Regions from separate parts of the Homo sapiens genome. Here all the other regions are linked to region 4. Evidence: promoter capture Hi-C in human tissues and cell types (Jung and others, 2019). All regions are on one chromosome and are shown on one strand. Each heading gives the region's core, a stretch centred on a gene start or on the middle of the fragment in contact. The rest is flanking DNA. Distances are from core to core; before and after follow the strand shown. Region 1 overlaps NFATC3 (nuclear factor of activated T cells 3). Region 2 overlaps TSNAXIP1 (translin associated factor X interacting protein 1). Region 3 overlaps NFATC3 (nuclear factor of activated T cells 3). Region 4 holds the start of DPEP3 (dipeptidase 3). Region 5 overlaps NFATC3 (nuclear factor of activated T cells 3).

The links. Contacts are between HindIII fragments. The study calls those that stand out against the background at their distance.
Region 1: a fragment that was not itself captured here is called in contact with the fragment with the promoter of DPEP3 in region 4 in 1 of the 25 tissues and cell types used here (aorta).
Region 2: a fragment that was not itself captured here is called in contact with the fragment with the promoter of DPEP3 in region 4 in 1 of the 25 tissues and cell types used here (pancreas).
Region 3: a contact is called between a fragment that was not itself captured here and the fragment with the promoter of DPEP3 in region 4, in 2 of the 25 tissues and cell types used here (bladder and thymus).
Region 5: a fragment that was not itself captured here is called in contact with the fragment with the promoter of DPEP3 in region 4 in 3 of the 25 tissues and cell types used here (dorsolateral prefrontal cortex, lymphoblastoid cells and spleen).

Annotation. Positions count from the first base shown.
Region 1 is chr16:68,109,301-68,113,760 of GRCh38, reverse strand. All of the region lies in intron 1 of NFATC3 (nuclear factor of activated T cells 3), which reads right to left. Among named protein-coding and RNA genes, the nearest start is that of NFATC3, 26 kb to the right of the region's middle. The HindIII fragment of the contact is 6,107 bases long and covers 1-4,460 here.
Region 2 is chr16:67,817,730-67,822,270 of GRCh38, reverse strand. It overlaps TSNAXIP1 (translin associated factor X interacting protein 1), which reads right to left. Exons shown (of 16, transcript NM_001288990.3): 3 at 1,320-1,432; 4 at 1,046-1,172. Among named protein-coding and RNA genes, the nearest start is that of TSNAXIP1, 13 kb to the right of the region's middle. The HindIII fragment of the contact is 4,075 bases long and covers 370-4,444 here.
Region 3 is chr16:68,207,248-68,211,624 of GRCh38, reverse strand. All of the region lies in intron 9 of NFATC3 (nuclear factor of activated T cells 3), which reads right to left. It also overlaps the pseudogene RPS12P27. Among named protein-coding and RNA genes, the nearest start is that of MIR6773, 24 kb to the left of the region's middle. RefSeq lists an enhancer at 412-481. The HindIII fragment of the contact is 3,682 bases long and covers 968-4,377 here.
Region 4 is chr16:67,978,948-67,982,982 of GRCh38, reverse strand. DPEP3 (dipeptidase 3) reads left to right here and starts at 2,484. Exons shown (of 10, transcript NM_001370198.1): 1 at 2,484-2,889; 2 at 3,218-3,344. The coding sequence starts at 2,603. RefSeq lists an enhancer at 2,660-3,160. The HindIII fragment of the contact is 8,829 bases long and covers 1-4,035 here.
Region 5 is chr16:68,146,378-68,150,820 of GRCh38, reverse strand. All of the region lies in intron 3 of NFATC3 (nuclear factor of activated T cells 3), which reads right to left. Among named protein-coding and RNA genes, the nearest start is that of NFATC3, 63 kb to the right of the region's middle. The HindIII fragment of the contact is 8,254 bases long and covers 1-4,443 here.

The DNA.
Region 1 (4,460 bases), core at 254-2,753, 130 kb before region 4:
TTTATGGACAGAACTCTGATATCCCTGGGAAGGAGCCTCTACGGGTAGGGGTGGTCATGGTCTCATGGTTCAGCTGACCTAGTCTTTCCTGCCTGTTGGCAGTCCAGATGAGGGGAATTCTCCCCAGCACAGCCGAACCTGCTCAGCCAAGGGGCAGTCAGACTGCTTCTTTAAGCAGGTTCCTGATCCCATCCCTCCTGACTGGGTGAGACCTCCCAACTGGGGTCACCAGGCACCTGATACAGGAGCGTTCCAGCCAGCATCAGCTCCGTGCCTTCTGGGATGAAGCTCCCAGAGGAGGAGGCAGCCATCTTTGCTGTTCTGCAGCCTCCACTGCTTATACCTCCAGGTGCAGGAGGGGGTAGATGAATTAGGTCAGGAGTGGTCCCCTAGTAAACTGCAGCAGCCCTACCCTATGGAAGAGGGGCCTTACTATTAAAAGAAAAACAAACAGAAAGCAACAACAACAACATCAACACAAAAGATCCCACAAAAACCCTATCCAAAGGTCAGCAGCCTCAAAGATCAAAGGCAGATAAATCCACAAAGATGAGAAAGAATCAATGCAAGAACGCTGAAATCTCAAAGAGCCAGAGTGTCTCTTCTCTAAATGATTGCAACACTTCTCCATCAAGGGCAGAGAACTGGGCTGAGGCAGAGAAGAATGAATTGACAGAAGTAGGCTTCAAAAGGTAGGTAATAACAAACTTCGCTGAGCTAAAGGAGTATGTTTTAACCCAAGGCAAAGAAGCGAAAAACCATGATAAAACATTACAGGAGCTGTTAACCAGAATGGCTAGTATACAGAGGAACATAAATGACCTGATTGAGCTGAAAAACACAACAGGAGAGCTTCACAATACAACCACAAGTATCAACAGCTGAACAGACCAGGCAGAGGAAAGGATATCAGAGCTTGAAGACTATCTTGCTAAAATAAGACGGGCAAACAAGGTTAGAGAAAAAAAAAAAATGTCGGGAGGCTGAGGCAGGAGAATGGCGTGAACCCAGGAAGCGGAGCTTGCAGTGAGCCGAGATTGCGCCACTGCAGTCCGCAGTCCGGCCTGGGCGACAGAGCGAGACTCCGTCTCAAAAAAAAAAAAAAAAAAAAAAACGAAAAAGAAAAAATGAAAAGAAATGAACAAAACCTCCAAGAACTATGGGATTATTTAAAAGAATGAACCTGGCTGGGCACAGTGGCTCACGCCTATAATCCCAGCACTTTGGGAGGCCGAGGCGGGTGGATCACGAGACCAGGAGTTCAAGACCAGCCTGGTCAAGATGGTGAAACCCCATCTCTACTAAAAATACAAAAATCAGCCAGGCGTGGTGGTGTGTGCCTGTAGTCCCAGCTACTCGGGCGGCTGAGGCAGAAGGATCGCTTGAACCCAGGAGGTGGAGGTTGCAGTAAGCCAAGATCACGCCACTGCACTCCAGCCTGGGCAACACAGCAAGACTCCATCTCAAAAAAAAAAAAAAAAAAAAAAAAAAAGACTGAACCTACAACTGGGGTACCTGAAAGAGACGGGGAGATCGCATCCAAGTCGGAAAACATACTTCACGGTATCATCCATGAGAACTTCCCCAACCTAGCAAGATAGGCCACCATTCAAATTCAGGAAATTCAGAGAAACCCAGTAAGATACTCCATGAGAAGATCAATCCCAAAACACATTATCATCAGATTCTCCAAGGTTGAAATGAAGGAAAAAATGTTAAGCGCAGGGAGAGAGGACAGATCACCACAAAGGTAAGCCCATCAAACTAACAGTGGACCTCTCAGCAGAAACCCTACAAGCCAGAAGAGATTGGATGCCAATATTCAACATTCTTAGAAAAGAATTTCCAACCCAAATGTCATATCCGGACAAATTAAGCTTCGTAAGTGAAAGAGAAATAAAGTCCTTTTCAGACAAGCAAATAATGAGGGAATTCAGCACCACCAGGTCTGCTTTACAAGAATTCCTGAAGGAAGCACTAAATATGGAAAGCAAAAACCATTATCAGCCACTACAAAAACACACTCAAGTACACAGACGAATGACACTATGAAGCAACTACATTAACACGTCTGCAAAATAACCAGCCAGCATTATGATGACAGGACCAAATTCACACATAACAATATTAACCTTAAAAGTAAATGGACTAAATACCCCAATTAAAATACACAAAATGGTTAGCTGGCTAAAAAGACAAGAACCATTGGTGTGCTGTATTCAAGAGACCCATCTAACATGCAAAGACATGCACAGGCTCAAAATAAAGAGATGGAGGAAAATTTACAAAGCAAATGGAAGGCAGGAAAAAAGCAGGGGTTGCAATCCTAGTTTCTGACAAAACAGATTTTAAACCAACAAGATCAAAAAAAGACAAAGAAGGGCATACAGCATGGTAAAGGGTTCAATTCAACAAGAAGAGCTAACTATCCTAAATATATATGCACCCAATACAGGCACACTCAGTTTCATAAAACAAGTTTTTAGAAACCTACAAAGAGACTTAGACTCCCACACAACAATAGTGGGAGACTTAACACCCCACTGTCAATATCAGACAGATCATCGAGACAAAAAATTAACAAAGATATTCAGGACTTGAGTTCAGCTGTGATCAAGTAGACTTACCCAAAAACAGAATATACATTCTTCTCAGTGCCACATGGCACTTACTCTAGATTCGATCACATACTTGGAAGTAAAACACTCCTCAGCAAATGCAAAAGAAATGAAATCATAACTGTCTCTCAGACCACAGCGCAATCAAATTAGAACTCAACATTAAGAAACTCACTCAAACCCACACAACTACATGGAAATTGAACAACCTGCCCCTGAATGACTTCTGGGTAAAAAATGAAATTAAGGCAGAAATCAAGAAGTTATTTGAAACCAATGAGAACAAAGAGACAATGTACCAGAATCTCTGGGATATAGCTAAAGCAGTGTTAAGAGGGAAATTTATAGCACTAAATGCCCACATCAAAAAGCCAGAAAAAACTCAAATCGACATCCTAATATCACAACTAAAAGACTAGAGAACCAAGAGTAAACAAACCCCAAATCTAGCAGAAGACAAGACATAACCAAGATCAGAGCAGAACTGAAGGAGACAGAGACACAAAAAAACCCTTAAAAAAAAAAATCAGGCTGGGCGCGGTGGCTCACGCCTATAATCCCAGCACTTTGGGAGGCTGAGGCGGGCAGATCACAAGGTCAGGAGATCGAGACCATCCTGGCTAACACGATGAAACCCCGTCTCTACTAAAAAAAAATACAAAAAAAATTAGCCGGGTGTGGTGGTGGGCACCTGTAGTCCCAGCTACTCAGGAGGCTGAGGCAGGAGAATGGCATGAACCCGGGAGGCGGAGCTTACAGTGAGCCGAGATTGGGCCACTGTACTCCAGCCTGGGCAACAGAGCGAGACTTCGTCTCGAAAAAAAAAAAAAAAAATTCAGGCCAGGCACGGTGGCTCACACCTGTAATCCTAGCACTTTGGGAGGCCAAGGCAGGCAGATCACTTGAGGTCAGGAGCTCAAGACCAGCCTGGCTAACATGGTAAAACCCTGTCTCTACTAAAAATACAAAAATTAGCCCAGTGTGGTGGTGGGTGCCTATAATCCCACCTACTCAAGAGGCTGAAGCAGGAGAATTGCTTGAACCCAGGAGGTGGAGGTTGCAGTGAGCCAAGATCGTATCACTGCACTCCAGCCTGAGCAACAGAGTGAGACTCCATCTCAAAACAAACAAACAAACAAAAACAACTCATCCAGGAGCTTGGCTAGGCTAATGAAGAAAAGAGACAAGAATCAAATCAACACAATAAAAAATGATAAAGCAGATATCACCACTGACCCCACAGAAATACAAACCACCACAGAGAATACTATAAACACCTTTATGCAAATAAACTAGAAAACTTAGAAGACACTGATAAATTCCTGGACACATACACCCTCCTAAGACTGAACCAGAAAGAAGCTGAATACCTGAACAGACCAATAATGAGTTATGAAATTGAGGCAGTAATACATAGCCTACCAACCAAAATAAGCCCAGGACCAGAAAGATTTACAGCTGAATTCTACCAGAGGTACAAAGAGAAGCTGGTACCATTTCTTCCGAAACTATTCCAAACAACCGAAAAGGAAGGACTACTCCCTAACTCATTTTATGAGGCCAGCATTATCCTGATACCAAAACCTGAAAGAGATATAACAAAAAAAGAAAACTACAGGCCAATATCACTGATGAACATTGATCCCAAAATCCTCAAATAAATACTGGTAAACCGAATCCAGCAGCACATCAAAAAGCTTATCGACCAGGATCAAGTCAGCTTCATTCCCAGAATGCAAGGCTGGTTCAACATATTCAAATCAATAGATGTAATCCATCACATAAACAGAACTAAAGACAAAAATCACATGATTATCTCAATAGATGCAGAAAAGGCCTTCG
Region 2 (4,541 bases), core at 1,158-3,657, 160 kb after region 4:
GTCTCACTCTGTTGCCCAGGCTGGAGTGCAGTGGCGTGAACTTGGCTCACTGCAAGCTCCGCCTCCCAGGTTCATGCCATTCTCCTGCCTCAGCCTCCCGAGCAGCTGGGACTACAGGTGCCTGCCACCACACCTGGCTAATTTTTTTGTATTTTTAGTAGAGACGGGGTTTCACCATGTTAGCCAGGATGGTCTCGATCTCCTGACCTGGTGATCCGCCTGCCTCGGCCTCCCAAACTGCTGGGATTACAGGTGTGAGCCACCGTGCCTGGCCTTCTTTTTTCTGTTGACAGAGTCTCACTCTGTTGCCCAGGCTGTAGTGCAGTGGCATGATCTCGGCTCACTGCAACCTCTGCCGCCTGGGTTCAAGCAATTCTCCTGCCTCAGCCTCCTGAGTAGCTGGGACTACAGGTGTGTACCACCACTGCAGGTTTTGTATTTTTAGTAGAGGCAGGGTTTCACCATGTTGACCAGGCTGGTCTTGAACTCCTGACCTCAAGCGATCCTCCTGCCTCAGCCTCCCGAAGTGCTGGGATTACAGGCATGAGCCACTGTGCCCGGCCTCACTGGCATTTTCATGGGATGTTTCATGCTTCTGTTCAGGGAAGGAGACCCAGGAGAGCTGGGAGAGGTGGGTCTCCCCTGAAGGTCTGAGGTGCTCAGTCCTTGTAGGTGAGGCTTTTTTTTGTTTTTGAGACGGAGTCTCACTCTTGTCGCCCAGGTTGGAGTGCAGTGGTGTGATCTTGTCTCACTGCAACCGCTGCCTCCCGGGTTCAGGGTTCAAGCGATTCTCCTGCCTCAGCCTCCTGAGTAGCTGGGACTACAGGTGCCCACTACCATGCCTGGCTAATTTTTGTACTTTTAGTAGAGACGGGGTTTCGCCATGTTGGCCAGGCTGGTCTTGAACTCCTGACCTCAGGTGGTCCACCCGCCTTGGCCTCCCAAAGTGCTGAGATTACAGGCGTGAGCCACTGTGCCCGGCCGGTAGGTGAAGCTTCTTCCCACCCTTCCCCCGCCCTCCCCAAGTTTCTTCTGTGGCTCTGACCTGCAGCCTTAGTTCCTGGGTGGAATCTGTGCCCAGGTCCAGCAGGAGGAGCTCCTTGCGTAGGTAGTTTTCCAGTTCCTCCAAGTACTGGGGCTTGGCAGTGCGAAAGGGGTGCTGCTGGCAGCTCCTGCAGGGGACAGTGGCTGATATGTGGCCAGCACCCCCACGGGGCCCTTGTGCCCTCAGTCTGGGGCAACACACGCCCCTGCCCTGTCTCCTGGCCCAAAGCCTGGCCCATGCCAGCTCACCCACCATGGGACTGACCCTGGCTTACCCTACTCGCTTCCGGTAGTCATCTGAACAGGGTTTTCGATTTTGCAAAATGGTCTGGCCACTGGTGTATGTGGGCCATGGGGACAGGTGCCCACCCATGGAGAACTGACCAGTCTGCAGGGAGGTACAGGTGGGGTTGCCATGGCAACATTGCTCCCCTTCCTAATGTTTCTCTCCATCTCTCCTCCCCCAGTCCTGACTTTTTTTTTTTGAGACAGTCTTGCTCTGTTGCCCAGGCTGGAGTGTGGTGGCACGATCTTGGCTCACTGCAACCTTCGCCTCCCAGGTTCAAGCTGTTCTCTGCCTCAGCCTCCCGAATAGTTGAGATTACAAGCACCCACCACCACACCCATCTAATTTTTGTATTTTTAGTAGAGACGTGGTTTCACCATCTTGGCCAGGCTGGTCTTGAACTCTTAACCTCGTGATCCACCCACTTTGGCCTCCCAAAGTGCTGGGATTACAGGCGTGAACCACTGTGCCTGGCCAGCCCTGATGTGTTTTACAAACATCTCTCAACATGGTTCATAATTAAGACTGTGGGTTCTTGAGTTAGAGAAGACTCGGGTTAAGTCTCAAATGTCCCTTATTAGCTATGTCACAACTTCTCTGAGCCTTAGTTCTCACGTCTGTAAAATAGGGATGATGGTAGTCTTTGTCACAGTGTATTGATGTGAGGATGCAGTGAGAAAGCATAGTCGGGCGCGGTGGCTCACGCCTGTAATTCCCAGCACTTTCGGAGGCTGAGGTGGGTGGATCACGAGGTCAGGAGATCGAGACTATCCTGGCTAACACGGTGAAACCCCGTCTCTACTAAAAATACAAAAAAAAATTAGGCCGGGCATGGTGGCTCACGCCTGTAATCCCAGCACTTTGCAAGGCCAAGGCGGATGGATCACGAGGTCAGGAGATCGAGACCATCCTGGTTAACACAGTGAAACCCCGTCTCTACTAAAAATACAAAAAATTAGCCGGGCGTGGTGTCGGACACCTGTAGTCCCAGCTACTCTGGAGGCTGAGGCAGGAGAATGGCATGAACCCAGGAGGCGGAGTTTGCAGTGAGCCAAGATTGCGCCACTGCACTCCAGCCTGGCGACAGAGCGAGACTCAGTCTCAAAAAAAAAAAAAAAAAAAAAATTTAGCCAGGTGTGGTGGCATGTGCTTATAGTCCCAGCTACTCAGGAGGCTGAGGCAGGAGAATCCCTTGAACCCGGGAAGCGGAGGTTGCGGTGAGCTGAGATTGCACCATTGCACTCCAGCCTGGACAACAAGAACAAAACTCTGTCTCAAAAAAAAAAAAAAAAAAAGAGGGAAAGCATAATGTGTGCTTCACATGGACCCTGGTACTTGCTAGGAACTCAGTAAAGATTAGCTATTCTGGCCGGGCACAGTGGCTCATGCCCGTAATCCCAGCAGTTTGGGAGGCCAAGATGTGCGACTTTTAGCACTTTGAGGCCAAGGTGGGCAGATCACTTGAGGTCAGGAATTTGAGACCAGCCTGGCCAACATGGTGAAACTCCATCTCTACTAAAAATACAAAAATTAGCCGGGCATGGTGGCACACGCCTGTATTCCCAGTTACTCGGGAGGCTGAGGCAGGAGAATCGCTTGAACTCGGGAGGCAGAGGTTGCAGTGAGCTGGGATCGACCCCTTGCACTCCAGCCACGGGGACAAGAGTGAAACTCCATCTCAAAAAAAAAAAAAAAAGACTATCAAAATGGATGTAATTATTTATGTATGTATGTTTATATGTATGTATTTATTTATTTATTTGAGATGGAGTTGCCAAGCTGGAGTTGCCCAAGCTGGAGTGCAGTACAGTAGCACGATCTCTGCTCACTGCAGCTCTGCCTCTTGAGTTCAAGCAATTCTCCTGCCTCAGACTCCCGAGTAGCTGGCCTGCCACCATGCCCAGTTCTTTTGTATTTTTAGTAGAGATTACAAGTGTGAGCCATCGCGCCCAGCTCACGCCTGATTCCCAGCACTTTGGGAGGCGGAGGCAAGCGGATAACCTGAGGCCAGGAATTTGAGGCCAGCCTGGCCAACATGTTGAAACCCCATCTCTACTAAAAATACAAAAATTAACCAGGCCTGGTAGTGCACGCCTGTAATCCCAGCTATTTCGGAGGCCGAGGCAGAAGAATTGCCTCAACCCTGGAGGCAGAGGCCACAGTGAGCAGACATGGCACGACTGTACTCCAGTCTGGGCGACAGAGAGAGACTCTGTCTCAAAAAAAAAAAAAAAAAAGGATGGGGTCTCACTATGTTGCCCACGCTGGGCTTCTCGAACTGTCCTGGGATCAAGAGATCCTCCTACCTTGTCCTCCCAAAGTGCTGGGATTACAGGCTTGAGTCATGATGCCCAGCCTAATTTTTATAAAAGCACAAAATAACCCTGGAAGACACCTGGGAGTTTATTTTTTATTTTTTTCTTAGAGACAGGGTCTTACTCTGTCACCCAGGCTGGAGTGCAGTGACCCAATAACACCTCACAGTAACTACAAACTCCCGGGCTCAAGAGATCCTCCCACCTCAGTCTCCTGAGTAGCTAGGACTACATGGGCACACCACCATTCCTGGTTAATTTAAAAAATCTTTTTTGTAGAGATGAAATCTCCCTGTGTTGCCAGGCTGGTCTCAAACTCCTGGTCTCAAGCAGTCTTCCTTCTTTGGCCTCCCAAAGTGTTAGGATTACAGGTGTGAGCCAGCCTTGTTTTTCAGAATTTTATTTATTTATTTTTTTGAGACTGAGTCTCGCTCTGTCGCCCAGGCTGGGGTGCAGTGGCACAATCTCTGCTCACTGCAGCCTCCACCTCCTGGGTTCAAGTGATTGTCCTGCCTCAGCCTCCCGAGTAGCCGGAATTACAGGCGCATGCCACCACGCCCAGCTAATTTTTGTATTTTTAGTAGAGATGGGGTTTCACCATGTTGGCCAGGCTGGTCTTGAACTCCTGACCTAGTGATCTGCCCACCTCAGCCTCCCAAAATGCTGGGATTACAGGTGTGAGCCACTGCGCCCGGCCCAGACTATTTTTTATTATTTGTTTTTATTTATTCATTTATTTTGAGACGGAGCCTCACTCTGTTGCCCAGGCTGGAGCGCAGTGGCACTATCTTGGCTCACTGCAACCTCCACCTCCCAAGTTCAAGCAATTCTCCTGCCTCAGCCTCCCGAAGAGACTGCAGGCACGCACCACCACACCCGGCAAATTTTGTATTTTT
Region 3 (4,377 bases), core at 1,559-4,058, 230 kb before region 4:
CTTGAACCTGGGAGGCGGAAGTTGCAGTGAGCTGAGATCATGCCATTGCACTCCAGACTGGGCAACAGGGTGAGACTCCGACTCAAACAACAACAACAACAACAACAACAACAAAAAACATTTACAGAAGAAGAGTTTCAGCCGGGCACAGTGGCTCACGCCTGTAATCCCAGCACTTTGGGAGGCCGAGGCGGGAGGATCACAAGGTCAGGAGATAGAAACCATCCTGGCCAACATGGTGAAACCCCGTCTCTACTAAAAATACAAAAATTAGCTGGGCATAGTGGTGAGTGCCTGTAATCCCAGCTACTCGAGAGGCTGAGGCAGGAGAATGGCGTGAACCCGGGAGGTGGAGGTTGCAGTGAGCTGAGATCGCGCCACTGCACTCCAGCCTGGCGACAGAGCGAGACTCCATCTCAAAACAAAACAAAGAAAAAAGAGTTTCGATTCTTTTGAAACTCTTAAAAAGATTAAAGAAAAGGAAACACTTCCTAACTCATTATGAGGCCAGAATTTACTCTGACACAAAGCCAGAAAAAGATACTATAAGAAAAGAAAAGGCTAGGCACAGTGGCTTACACCTGGGAGGCTAAGGTGGGTGGATCACGAGGTCAGGAGTTCGAGACCAGCCTGGCCAATATGGTGAAACCCCATCTCTACTAAAAATACAAAAAAATTAGCCGGGCATGGTGGTGCGCACTTGTAGTCCCAGCTACTCGGGAGGCTGAAGCAGAAGAATCGCTTGAACTGGGGAGGCAGAGGTTGCAGTGAGCCGAGGTCACACCACTGCATTCCTGCCTGAGCGACAGAGCAAGACTCCATCTCAAACAAACAAAAAAACAAAAAAACTACAGAATATTCTTTATGAATATAGATGCAAAAATCAACAAAACACTAACACAATTCAGCAGCATATTAAAAGGATGATACATTAAGACCAAGTGAGTTTTATTCCCAGAATGCAAGGATGATTCAACAAATGAAAATCAATTAAAGTAATATGCCAAATTAGTTGAACAAAAGAAAAAAAAACATACTCCTGACTGGCATGGGCAACATGGCAAGACCCTACCTCTACAAAAATTAATTTAAAAACCACATGATCATCTCGATAGATGCAGAAAAGTGTTTGTAAAAATTCTTTTATTTTTTTTGAGACAAGGTGTCACTCTGTCACCAAGGCTGGTGTGCAGTGGCACAATAATGGCTCACTGCAGCCTCTACCTCCCAGGCTCAAGCAATCCTCCCACTTCAGCTTCCCAAGTATTTGGGACCACAGCACCTGGCTAATTTTTTGTATTCTTTTTTTTTTTCTTTTTTTTTTTTTGAGAAGGAATCTCACTCTGTCGCCCAGGCTGGAGCGCAGTGGCATGATCTTGGCTCACTGCAAGCTCCGCCTTCCGGGTTCACGCCATTCTCCTGCCTCAGCCTCCCGAGTAGCTGGGACTACAGGTGCCCGCCACCATGCCCAGCTAATTTTTTTGTATTTTCAGTAGAGATGGAGTTTCACTGTGTTAGCCAGGATGGTCTCAATGTCCCGACCTCGTGATCCGCCCACCTCGGCCTCCCAAAGTGCTGGGATTACAGGCGCGAGCCACTGCACCTGGCCATTTTTTGTATTTTTAGCAGAGATGGGATTTCATGTTGCCCAGGCTGGTCTTGAACTCTTGGGCTCGAGCAATCTGCCCACCTCGGCCTCCCAAAGTGCTAGGACTACAGGATTGAGCCAACATGCCCAGAGTGAGTGTGACTGTGAGTGTGTGTGTGTGTGTGTCTGTGTGTGTGTTGGGGGGCAGGGGGGTTAGCCAGAGTTTTATTCGTTCATTTCTTGCATTTGAAGTACTTCAACTACTACACAACTGCAACGAACCACTTTACGGGGTTTCCCCTCTCTGTCAATTTTACAGAGACCTAACCATTCCCCCTAGCTTCTTGTCATCAACCTTAAGTAGGTTGATTTGGTGTTCAGCACAAAGAACCTCTATGAACTTGACATAGGCTCATCACAGTTGGATGCAAACACACAAAAGATGGGCCTGACCCTTCAGCAGCTTTGCAAATTCCACGTGCTAGGCCATCATGGGTGAGGACAGTCTTCAACACCTCTTGTAAAGCAGTATTAACAGCCACCACACCTCCAGCAGCAACACCTTCCGTGGCCATGGTGGTGGTCTACGGGTGAAGCTGAATCTTGAATGCACCCAAGCCTCTGCCTCCACTCAACTCAGCAGTGGCAGGGAAAGAACTCTTTTTCTTTGAGACGGTCTCACTCTGTTGCCCAGGCTGGAGTGCAGTAGCATCCCAATCACGGCTCACTGCAGCCTCCACCTCCTGGGTTCTAGCTATCTGCCCGCCTCAGCCTCCCAAAGTGCTGGTATCACAGGCGTGAGCCACCGTGCCCAACTCATTTATCAAAATTCAATGCTCTTTCAAGATGAAAACATTCAATAAACAAAGAATAGAAGGAATTTCCTCAATATGAAAAAGGCCATATATGAAAAACTGTTAGTTCCTATCATTATCAACAAAGAACAAAAGCTTTCCCCCTAAGATCACAAACAAAGCAAAGATGCCCACTCTTTCACCACTTCTACTAGCCTACCACTAGAAGTTCTAGCCAGAGCAATTAGGTTAGAAAAATAAATAAATACATAAAGCCCATCCAAATTAAAAAGGAAGAGAGAAAATTATCTCTATTCACGAATGGCATGATAGTATAAACATAAAACTCTAAAGAATCCACACAGACAAAAAAATGTTAGCACTAACAAATAAAGTCACCAAAGTGGCAGAATATAGAATCAACACACAATATTCAGTTGTACTTCTATATACTTGGAATGAAAGGTCCAAAAAAAATTAAGAAAACAATTCTTGTTTTGGGGTTTTTTTTTTTGGTTTGTTTTTGAGACGGAGTCTCAGGCTGGAGTGCAGTGGCATAATCTTGGTTCACTCCAACTTCTGTCTCCCAGGTTCAAGCGATTCTCCTGCCTCAGTCCCACAAATAGCTGGGATTACAGGCATATGCCACCACACCCAGCTAATTTTTGTATTTTTAGTAGAGACAGAGTTTCCCCATGTTGGCCAGGTGGGCCCACGTTAGCCAGGTTGGTCTTGAACTCCTGAACTCAGGTGATCAGCCTGCCTCAGCCTCCCAAAGTGCTGGGATTACAAGTGTGAGCCGCTGTGCCCAATCTTAAGAAAAACAATTCTATTTACAGTGGCATCAAAAAGAATAAAATACTTAGGAATTAACCAAAGAGGCATAAGATTTCTACATTGAAAACTAGACCGGGCATGGTGGCTCATGCCTATAACCCTGCACTTTGGGAGGCTAAGGCGGGTGGCTCACCTGAGGTCAGGAGTTTGAGACCAGCCTGACTAATATGGAGAAACCCCATCTCTAATAAAAATACAAAAAATTAGCCAGGCGTGGTGGTGTGAGCCTGTAAACCCAGCTACTCAGGAGGCTGAGGCAGGAGAATCGCTTGAACTTGGGAGGTGGAGGCTGCAGTGAGCCAAGGTCATGCCACTACACTCCAGCTTGGGTGACACAGCCAGATTCCGTCTCAAAAATAAATAAATAAATAAAATAAAGGATTTGGATAGACAAGAAAATATACAAATGGACAACAGGCACATGAAAAGATGCTCAACACCATTAGTCAATAGGGAAATGCAAATCAAAATTATAATGAATATAACTTAATACCCAGTAGGATGGCTATTATTTTAAAAATGGAAAATAACATGTGTTGGCAAGGGTATAAAGAAACTGAAAGCCTTATACATTGTAAATGTAAAATGGTGTGGCTGCTGTAGGATTAAAAAAAATAGTGGTTCCTCAAAAAGTTGAACATGGAGGCTGGGCTTGGTGGCTCACGCCTGCAATCCCAGCACTTTGGGAGGCTGAGGAGGGTGGGTGACCTGAGGTCAGAAGACAGATCAGTGTGGCCAACATGGTGAAACCCCGTTTTTACTAAAAATACAAAAATTAGCTGGGCGTGATGGCACATGCCTGTAATCCCAGCTACTCAGGAGGCTGAGGCATGAGAATCGCTTCAACCCAGGAGGCAGAGACTTCAGTGAGCCCAGATCGCACCACTGCACTCCAGCCTGGGTGACAGAGTGGGACTCCATCTCAAAAAGAAAGTTGAACACAGAATTACCATAGGACCCAGCAATTCCACTCTTACGTAAACACACAAAAGTACTGAAAAGAGGGACTCAAACAGTATGTATGCCAGTGTTCACAGCAGCATTATTCCCAACAGCCGAGAGGGAAACAATACAAATTATCTTTTTTTTTTTTTTGAGATGGAGTTTTGCTCTTGTTGCCTAGGCTGGAGTGCAATGGCATGGTCTCGGCTCACTGCA
Region 4 (4,035 bases), core at 1,235-3,734:
CTGATTGGTCCATTTTACAGAGAGCTGATTGGTCTGTTTTACAGAGAGCTGATGGGCCCGTTTTGACAGGGTGCTGACTGGTGCGTTTACAATCCCTGAGCTAGACACAAAAGTTCTCCACGTCCCCACTAGATTAGCTAGATACAGAGTGTCGATTGGTGCATTCACAACCCCGGAGCTAGACACAGGGTGCTGATTGGTGTGTTTACAAACCTTGAGCTACATACAGAGTGCTGATTGGTGTATTTACAATCCCTTAGCTAGACATAAAGATTCTCCAAGTCCCCACCAGACTCAGGAGCCCAGCTGGCTTCACCCAGTGGATGCTGCACCGGGGCCGCAGGTGGAGCTGCCTGCCAGTCCGGCGCCGTGTGCCCGCACTCCTCAGCCCTTGGGCAGTCGATGGGACTGGGCGCCGTGGAACAGGGGTTGGCGCTCGTCGGGGAGGCTTGGGCTGCACAGGAGCGCACGGCGGGGGTGGAGGCTCAGGCATGGAGGGCTGCAGGTCCCGAGCCCTGCCCGGCGGGGAGGCAGCTAAGGCCCAGCGAGAAGTCGAGCACAGCAGCTGCTGGCCCAGGTGCTAAGCTCCTCACTGCCCGGGCCGGCTGGCCGCTCCGAGTGCGGGGCTTGCCAAGCCCACGCCCACCCGGAACTCGAGCTGGCCCGCAAGCGCAGCCTGCAGCCACGGTTCCCGCCCACGCCTCTCTCTCCACACCTACCCGCAAGCTGAGGGAGCCGGCTCCAGCCTTGTCCAGCCCAGAAAGGGGCTCCCACAGTGCAGCGACGGGCTGAAGGGCTCCTCAAACGCGGCCAGAGTGGGCGCCAAGGCCGAGGAGGTGCCGAGAGGGAGCGAGGGCTGTGAGGGCTGCCAGCACGCTGTCACCTCTCATTTTTGTGTCTGTATACTAACATATATATAGAAAAAAATATTCGGCCCGGTGCGGTGGCTCACGCCTGTAATCCCGGAACTTTGGGAGGCCAAGGTGGGCGGATCACGAGGTCAGGAGATCAAGACCATCCTGGCTAACACGGTGAAACCCGGTCTCTACTAAAAATACAAAAAATTAGCTGGGCATGGTGGTGGGCGCCTGTAGTCCCAGCTACTCGGGAGGCTGAGGCAGGAGACTGGCATGAACCCGGGAGGCGGAGCTTGCAGTGAGCAGAGATGGAGCCACTGCACTCCAGCCTGGGTGGCACAGTGAGACTCCGTCTCAAAAAAAAAACCACGTCTCTAAAAAAGAAATAAGGCCGGACGTGGTGGCTCATGCCTGTAATCCTAGCACTTTGGGAGACCTAGGTGGGCAGATCGCTTGAGCTCAGGAGTTCAAGACCAGTCTGGGCAACATGGTAAAACCCTGTCTCTAAAAAAAAATGCAAATATACAAAAATTAGCTGGGCATGGTGGTGCATGCCTGTAGTCCCTCCCAGCTACTTAGGGAGCTGAAGCAGGAGGATCACTTTTACCTGGGAGGTCGAGGCTACAGTGAGCTGAGATGGTGCCACTGCACTCCAGTGAGACCCTGTCTCAAAAAAAAATTTGTTTTAATAAAATAAAAAATAACAATTAGCCATGCATGGTGGCACTGCACCTATAGTCTCAGCTACTTGGGAGGTGGAGGAAGGAGGATCGCTTGAGCTCAGAAGTTCAAGGCTGCAGCAAGCTATGATCAAGGCTGCAGCAAGCTATGATCACCCCACTGCAACTCCAGCCTGGGTGACAGATACTCTGTCTCTTGGAGAAGGAAAAAAAGCTAAAATAATGATCCCCAACAAAAATTGTTCTTAAATTTCATTTTCGGGGCCGGGCACGGTGGCTCACGCCTGTAATCCCAGCACTTTGGGAGGTCGAGGCAGGAGGATCACTTGAGGTCAGGAGTTCAAGGCCAGCCTGGCCAACATGGTAAAACCCCATCTCTACTGAAAATACAAAAATTAGCTGGGCATGGTGGCGGGCACCTGTAATCCCAGCTACTCGGGAGGCTGAGGCAGGAAAATGGCTTGAACCCGGGACGTGGAGGTTGCAGTGAGCCGAGACTGCATCATTGCACTCCAGCCTGGGCAACAAGACCCAAACTCCGTCTCAAAACTGAAATGAGATGAAATGAAATAATGAAATGAAATGAAATGAAATGAAATGAAATGAAATACCTATAGGGAATCTTTCTGTCCATCAAACCAGACAGACCGAATTAACTCTTCTGAGTCGCAGCTTAGAATATTTGACCTGCCTAGGAGCTGGGCACAAGCCGGCAGCTAACCGCCACGTGGGCCTGGGTAGGAGGTGAGATCAGGAAGATCCCTGGGCCCCTACTAGTTCCCTGCCTGGCCTCCTCCCCCACTCGTGTGGGGGTCTACGGAGCCAGCGCTGGGGGTGGAAGGGCGAGGAGTCCTCGACGCTGCAGCGGCGGTTCCGGCCCATGGGGGCGCTCTCCTGCTTGGGGGCGGAAAAGCCGTGGCGCCCCCTTGCGTGGCGCGTCGGTCTCAGAGTCGCGTGACTTCAACCCCCTCTTCGGGAGGCTGGGTCGTCATGATCCGGACCCCATTGTCGGCCTCTGCCCATCGCCTGCTCCTCCCAGGCTCCCGCGGCCGACCCCCGCGCAACATGCAGCCCACGGGCCGCGAGGGTTCCCGCGCGCTCAGCCGGCGGTATCTGCGGCGTCTGCTGCTCCTGCTACTGCTGCTGCTGCTGCGGCAGCCCGTAACCCGCGCGGAGACCACGCCGGGCGCCCCCAGAGCCCTCTCCACGCTGGGCTCCCCCAGCCTCTTCACCACGCCGGGTGTCCCCAGCGCCCTCACTACCCCAGGCCTCACTACGCCAGGCACCCCCAAAACCCTGGACCTTCGGGGTCGCGCGCAGGCCCTGATGCGGAGTTTCCCACTCGTGGACGGGTATGTAGGTGCAGCGTTTGGGCAACGCGGGGTGAGCACACCCTTGGGCAGGAGAGGAGGTTCTGAGCATGCTATCAAGGAGGCTATCAAGGAGGCTCCCTCACACCACCCCTGGATGCCCTCTCTCCTCCATCACCCATGGGTGCCCTTCCCCGCATTACTCCATTCCTGGTGGAATCTAACCCCCTCCCTCCAACCCAACCTCAGGAGGTCTCTATATGGTCTGTGTGAGGAGGTGCCTGGTGGGGTGGAGGAGGGTAGACCCAAGCACCTGATATATCCTGACTGATCTGGAGGCGGTGTTTCCATCTGACCTTCACACCCCCAGCCACAATGACCTGCCCCAGGTCCTGAGACAGCGTTACAAGAATGTGCTTCAGGATGTTAACCTGCGAAATTTCAGCCATGGTCAGACCAGCCTGGACAGGCTTAGAGACGGCCTCGTGGGTGCCCAGGTACCACAGGGACACACAGGGTGCCACAGCATGGCTGCTGGGGGATGTTGGGGTCACAGAAACCTGGGTCAGCCAGCCTCTGGGTGACTAAATACAATGGGGCATGCAGTGTGCCATCATGTGGTTTCTAAGGAGAGTGGGGCCTTGGAGGCCAAGACAGGCTAGCTGCATGTATGCCCAGGTTCTGTGGAAACACGCAGAAAATGACCAGAAAATCCCTGGTGAGTGTGGGGTCTGCCGTAACCACAAAGGACATAGTGGATTGGCCTTGGGGCATTCACATAGCACATGGACTAACAGCAGTTTTTTGCTTGTTTGTTTGTTTGCATTTTTGAGACAGTGTCTCCTTCTGTCGCCCAGGCTGGAGTACAGTGGCACGATCTCGGTTCACTGCAACCTCCGCCTCCCGGGTTCAAGCAATTCTCCCTGCCTCAGCCTCCTGAGTAGCTGGGATTACAGGCACTCGCCACCACGCCCTGCTAATTTTTGTAGTTTTAGTAGAGACAGGGTTTTACCATGTTGGCCAGGCTGGTCTCGAACTCCTGACCTCACATGATCCACCCTCCTCGGCCTCCCACAGTGTGGAGATTACAGGCATGAGCCACTTGGCCTGGCCGTAACAGTAATTTATGATGTGTCGTGAGTCCATCATTTGACTGCTGGCAGCAAACAGTCATCAAGGAACCAGGCT
Region 5 (4,443 bases), core at 707-3,206, 170 kb before region 4:
CTATCAAGAGAACAGCATGGGGAAGCCACCCCAGTGATTCAATTACCCCCATCTGGCCTCTCCCTTCACACGTGGGAATTATGGGGATTACAATTCAAGATGAGATTTTGGGTGGAGACATAGCCAAACCACATCAACTATAATTTAGTTTATATATTTATTTTTCTCTTAATAGTACTGCATTATAACTGATATTCTTAAAATTATACGTGTAGTCAATTATATCACTTTTTTTTTTTGATTCAGGGTCTCGTTATGTCACCTAAGCTACAGTGCAATGGCACAATCATAGCTCAACACAACCCTGAGTTTCTGGGCTCAAAGGATCCTTCCACTTCAGTCTCTAGAGTAGCTAGGACATCAGGAGTGTGCCACCAAACCTAGCTTTTTTTTTTTTTTTTTTTTTTTAGATATAGAAGTCCCACTAGGTTGCCCTGGCTGGTCTTAAACTCTTGGTTTCAAGTGATCCTCCTGCCTTGGCCTTCCAAAATGCTGGTATTACGGGCATGAGCCACTGTGCCTGGCCTAATTGTATTATCTTTAAATCTCCATTTCAAGTTAATAAAGTAGCATTACAAAATGGATGTGGGGCTTTTTTTGAGAGTGGGGCTGGGTCTGATAGAGCTGAGAGACACTGATCTAGAAGACTTGTAACCAAAGAGGCACAAAGACCTCAGGATATAACCACCAAAGGTTTATAATAATGTTTTGCAACGGGCAAGATTCTTTATTATAATTCATACTGCAGAAACAATTCCAGATTCAAGGAAGATGACAAATCGTAATTCCAACTACCCTTCTCAAAGGATATAAGTAGAGCATATAAAGCAGGGAAAAACAGCTAATAAATAAATGGAAAAATGCTCAATCTTATTAAATATCAAATAAATAAGAAAACTACTTCTAACCTATCAAAAAAGCAAAGAACAGAGAAGTGGTAATAGTCTACACAGACAACTTTTCCCCTTTGTGGCTGTTTATATGATTTGCTCATTTTCTGTTTCTATTTTAGTATTATTAATTTTACAAGCCCTTTAGATATACTAAGCATATTAACCCTTTGTCTGCCTTACAAGTTATAAATATGGTTTTGTTTTCCATTTATCACCAATTCTGGATCAATTTCTGCTCCTCAGAAGGGAACCATTTGTAACCCTTTTCACTGTTTCTTTTGGAACTTACTTCCATATTTCTAAGGAACATGTTAATACTGCTATTTCCTAATGTTTTTCAAGGTTAGATATATTATCTTTTGAACTTTCAGTGTTTGCATTATAACTGGATACATGTTACTTGCAGCTCAGCCTTGTAGTGTATTTTAATTATATTTCCTTTTTCATACAACTTATTTGGTTACAGTTAATAATTGCCTTTTATATTAGGATTAAGTTTGGCTGCATAAACAAAAATCCAAAGTAACAGTAATTTAAACATGTTAAAAGTAAAGTTTATTTCTTAGAATCTACAGGTCTCTTCTACTGGACCAGTGAGTTTGCCTAAAACACATCCTGCAGTCTTCTGCCTAGGGAGCATAGTAAACCTATTGCAAGCATTGTGGGAACTAATAAAATGGTCAGAGGTCTCACTCTTCAGTATGCAGACTTCCATTATGCCTTCCCTTCCGCCCCCACCCCATTTTAAGAACAGATCATTAAGCCTAGCCTTTAGCTCTCCTAGAATCTAGAACCTCCACTTCATTCTCTCTATAGAATCACCAGATTCTCTCAGGGTAAGACAGGCATTATCACTAGGCTGTACCACACAGGAAAGAAACATCTGGGAAATTTAAGTCCTTTTTAAATTCAATTTAATTTTTTTTTCTTTTAAGATGGAGTCTCGCTGTGTTGCCCAGGCTGGAGTGCAGTGGTGCTGCAACCTCCACCTCCCAGGTTCAAGCAATTCTTCTGCCTCAGCCTCCTGAGTAGCTGGAACTACAGGCATGAGCCACCATGCCCGGCTAATTTTTTTGTATTTTTAGTAGAGACAGGGTTTCACCATGTTGGCCAGGTGGTCCCAAACTCCTGTCCTCAAATGATCCACCCGCCTCAACCTCCTAAGGTGCTAGGATTACAGGTGTGAACCACCGTGCCCGGTCTTAACTCCTTCTTTTATAGACTTTTTATCCAATCTTCTTGTTTTCAGTCTCACCTCACATCCCACTTTCAGAGATATCCAGTACGTCAAATTCCTGAACCTTTCCAGAGTTCTCAGATGCAAAATGACTTGTGCTGCTTGCTTATTGGTTCTTTCTCACCTGCCAGCAGGCTTAAGCTACAGCTGTCTTATGTTTAGTGAAAGTAAACCTGTTCAATTTATTACATTTATGTTTCCATTTTCTGTAAATATTTTAATTTTTATGTAGTCAAGAAATCTATCAGTATTCTCATTTGTAATTTTTTTACACATTTTAGTGTAAAATTAATAAATTTCAAAGCTTTAATTATGGAAACTATTCCATAAAACTATAAAATGTCAATATCATCACAATAACAAAAATAAAGCCTAGGTCAGGCACGGTGGCTCACACCTGTAATCCCAGCACTTTGGGAGGCCTAGGCAGGTGGATCACCCGAGGTCGGGAGTTCGAGACCAGCCTGACCAACATGGAGAAACCCCATCTCTACTAAAAATACAAAATTAGCCGGGCATGGTGGCGAATGCCTCTAATCCCAGCTACTCAGGAAGACTGAGGCAGGAGAATCGCTTGAACCCAGGAGGCGGAGGTTGCAGTGAGCCGAGATCGCGCCATTGCACTCCAGCCTGGAGTGCAAAACAAGAGCAAAACTCCATCTCTAAATAAATAAATAAATAAATCCTAAATAAATCAATAGCTAAAAGGAAACTGGAAAAGTTTGGGCATATATTTTATGTGTATCTGTGCAAAAACAAATTTCAGCCATTACTCTTTTGGTTTATCTGGCGGCAGATGGGGTAAGTAATAATGCCACGTGAGATTCATCCAGATTTATACCCAGAGGTAAAAAAAAATGAAGGTAGAGAGTGGTTATAGTTCACTGCATCCAAAAACTCCTGTGGACTATATGTCTTTTTTTTTTTTTTTTTTTCAGTTCACAGATAATCTGAAGCTAACAATGATTAGGCAACTTCCTCACATTCATCTATTCAGTGATTAGTCATTCCTTTTTGGTATACCTGTTGCTCTTTCATGTTTAATCATAAATTTAACAAATTATTCTACATGACCAACTGTTCATCAAGTGGAGAAATAAACAGCAACAACTTTACCACTTGCCTGTGAGCACTGTGAAGAGGACAGTATCCATCTTGTTATCTCCAGAGCCTAGCAGAGCGCCTAGCACATTACAGGCATTCAATCATTGTTGAAAGAATAAATTTTAGAATAACAGAGTACAATTTGGTGAAGCAAAATAACTCATGAAGTTAGTCAATACATTATTTCTAAAAGAACTGTAGGCAATTTGCTCTTATATAGAAAAAGAAAAAACCAACAAAAAAATTATAGGCATTAAAGTAGCTCGTCAAAATGAGGTAGTTAAATCTAAAATAGAGAATATAAATAAAAAAGTTTGCTATTACCTATTAAGTTATCCAGATATCAAATAACATACTGGCAAGTACTCTATACCAAAGAATCCTAGTCATATTAGATGGCTGACATGTATAAGAGCTTCACAAAGTCATAAGCCACTTGCTTTTTATACTTTGATAAAATAAACTGATGTTGGGGGAAGGTAATCACTCATATAAGATTTCAAAGGGAATATATTTCATAACACATATTTTGACCAACATCTGTTCCAGATGTATAATACCATAAGAAAAATAGGGCTATGCCTTTCTATCTGAGAGACTTTTAAAGGAAGATCAAATAAACTAATTAGACTATTATCCCATCTGATTTCCAGAGAAGCATTTATGTTGTAGGCAATAAATAAATTACTACTACTGTTAACACTAGTCTCTAAAAACTTTCACCAGTATCAGTAATCTCTTCAGTCCACCCTCTGCTTCGCAGAAGAAAGTAAGCCAAGTTGTTTGTTATGTTTCTGTATCGTTTCCATAGCAAAGGTCTGTGCCTGCTTAATTTAACTAAAGCTGGAGGGTTAAAGCCTGAAGGTCACTACAGGACAGACTACAGCAACTTCAATAAGAGCAGTTCCATTATCAGTTCTGCTGATTAGTTGGGGGAATGGGCTCTAAATATATTAGACCCATGACAACACATTGTAGAAATACTAAAAATACAAAATTAAATTTCTATAATATAAATTGCTTAAAATGAAAGTATGCATAAAAATGAAAAAATAATACAAACTTCATTTTTCAAATTTCAGTAACTTTTGGGATAAGATTCAAAATATGTATACCTTAATAAAACTTACCACTGTATAATATATAAGCTTTTTAAAAAAAATCCTTTTTTTTTTTCTTTTGGGAGACAAGGTCTTGCTATGTTGCCCA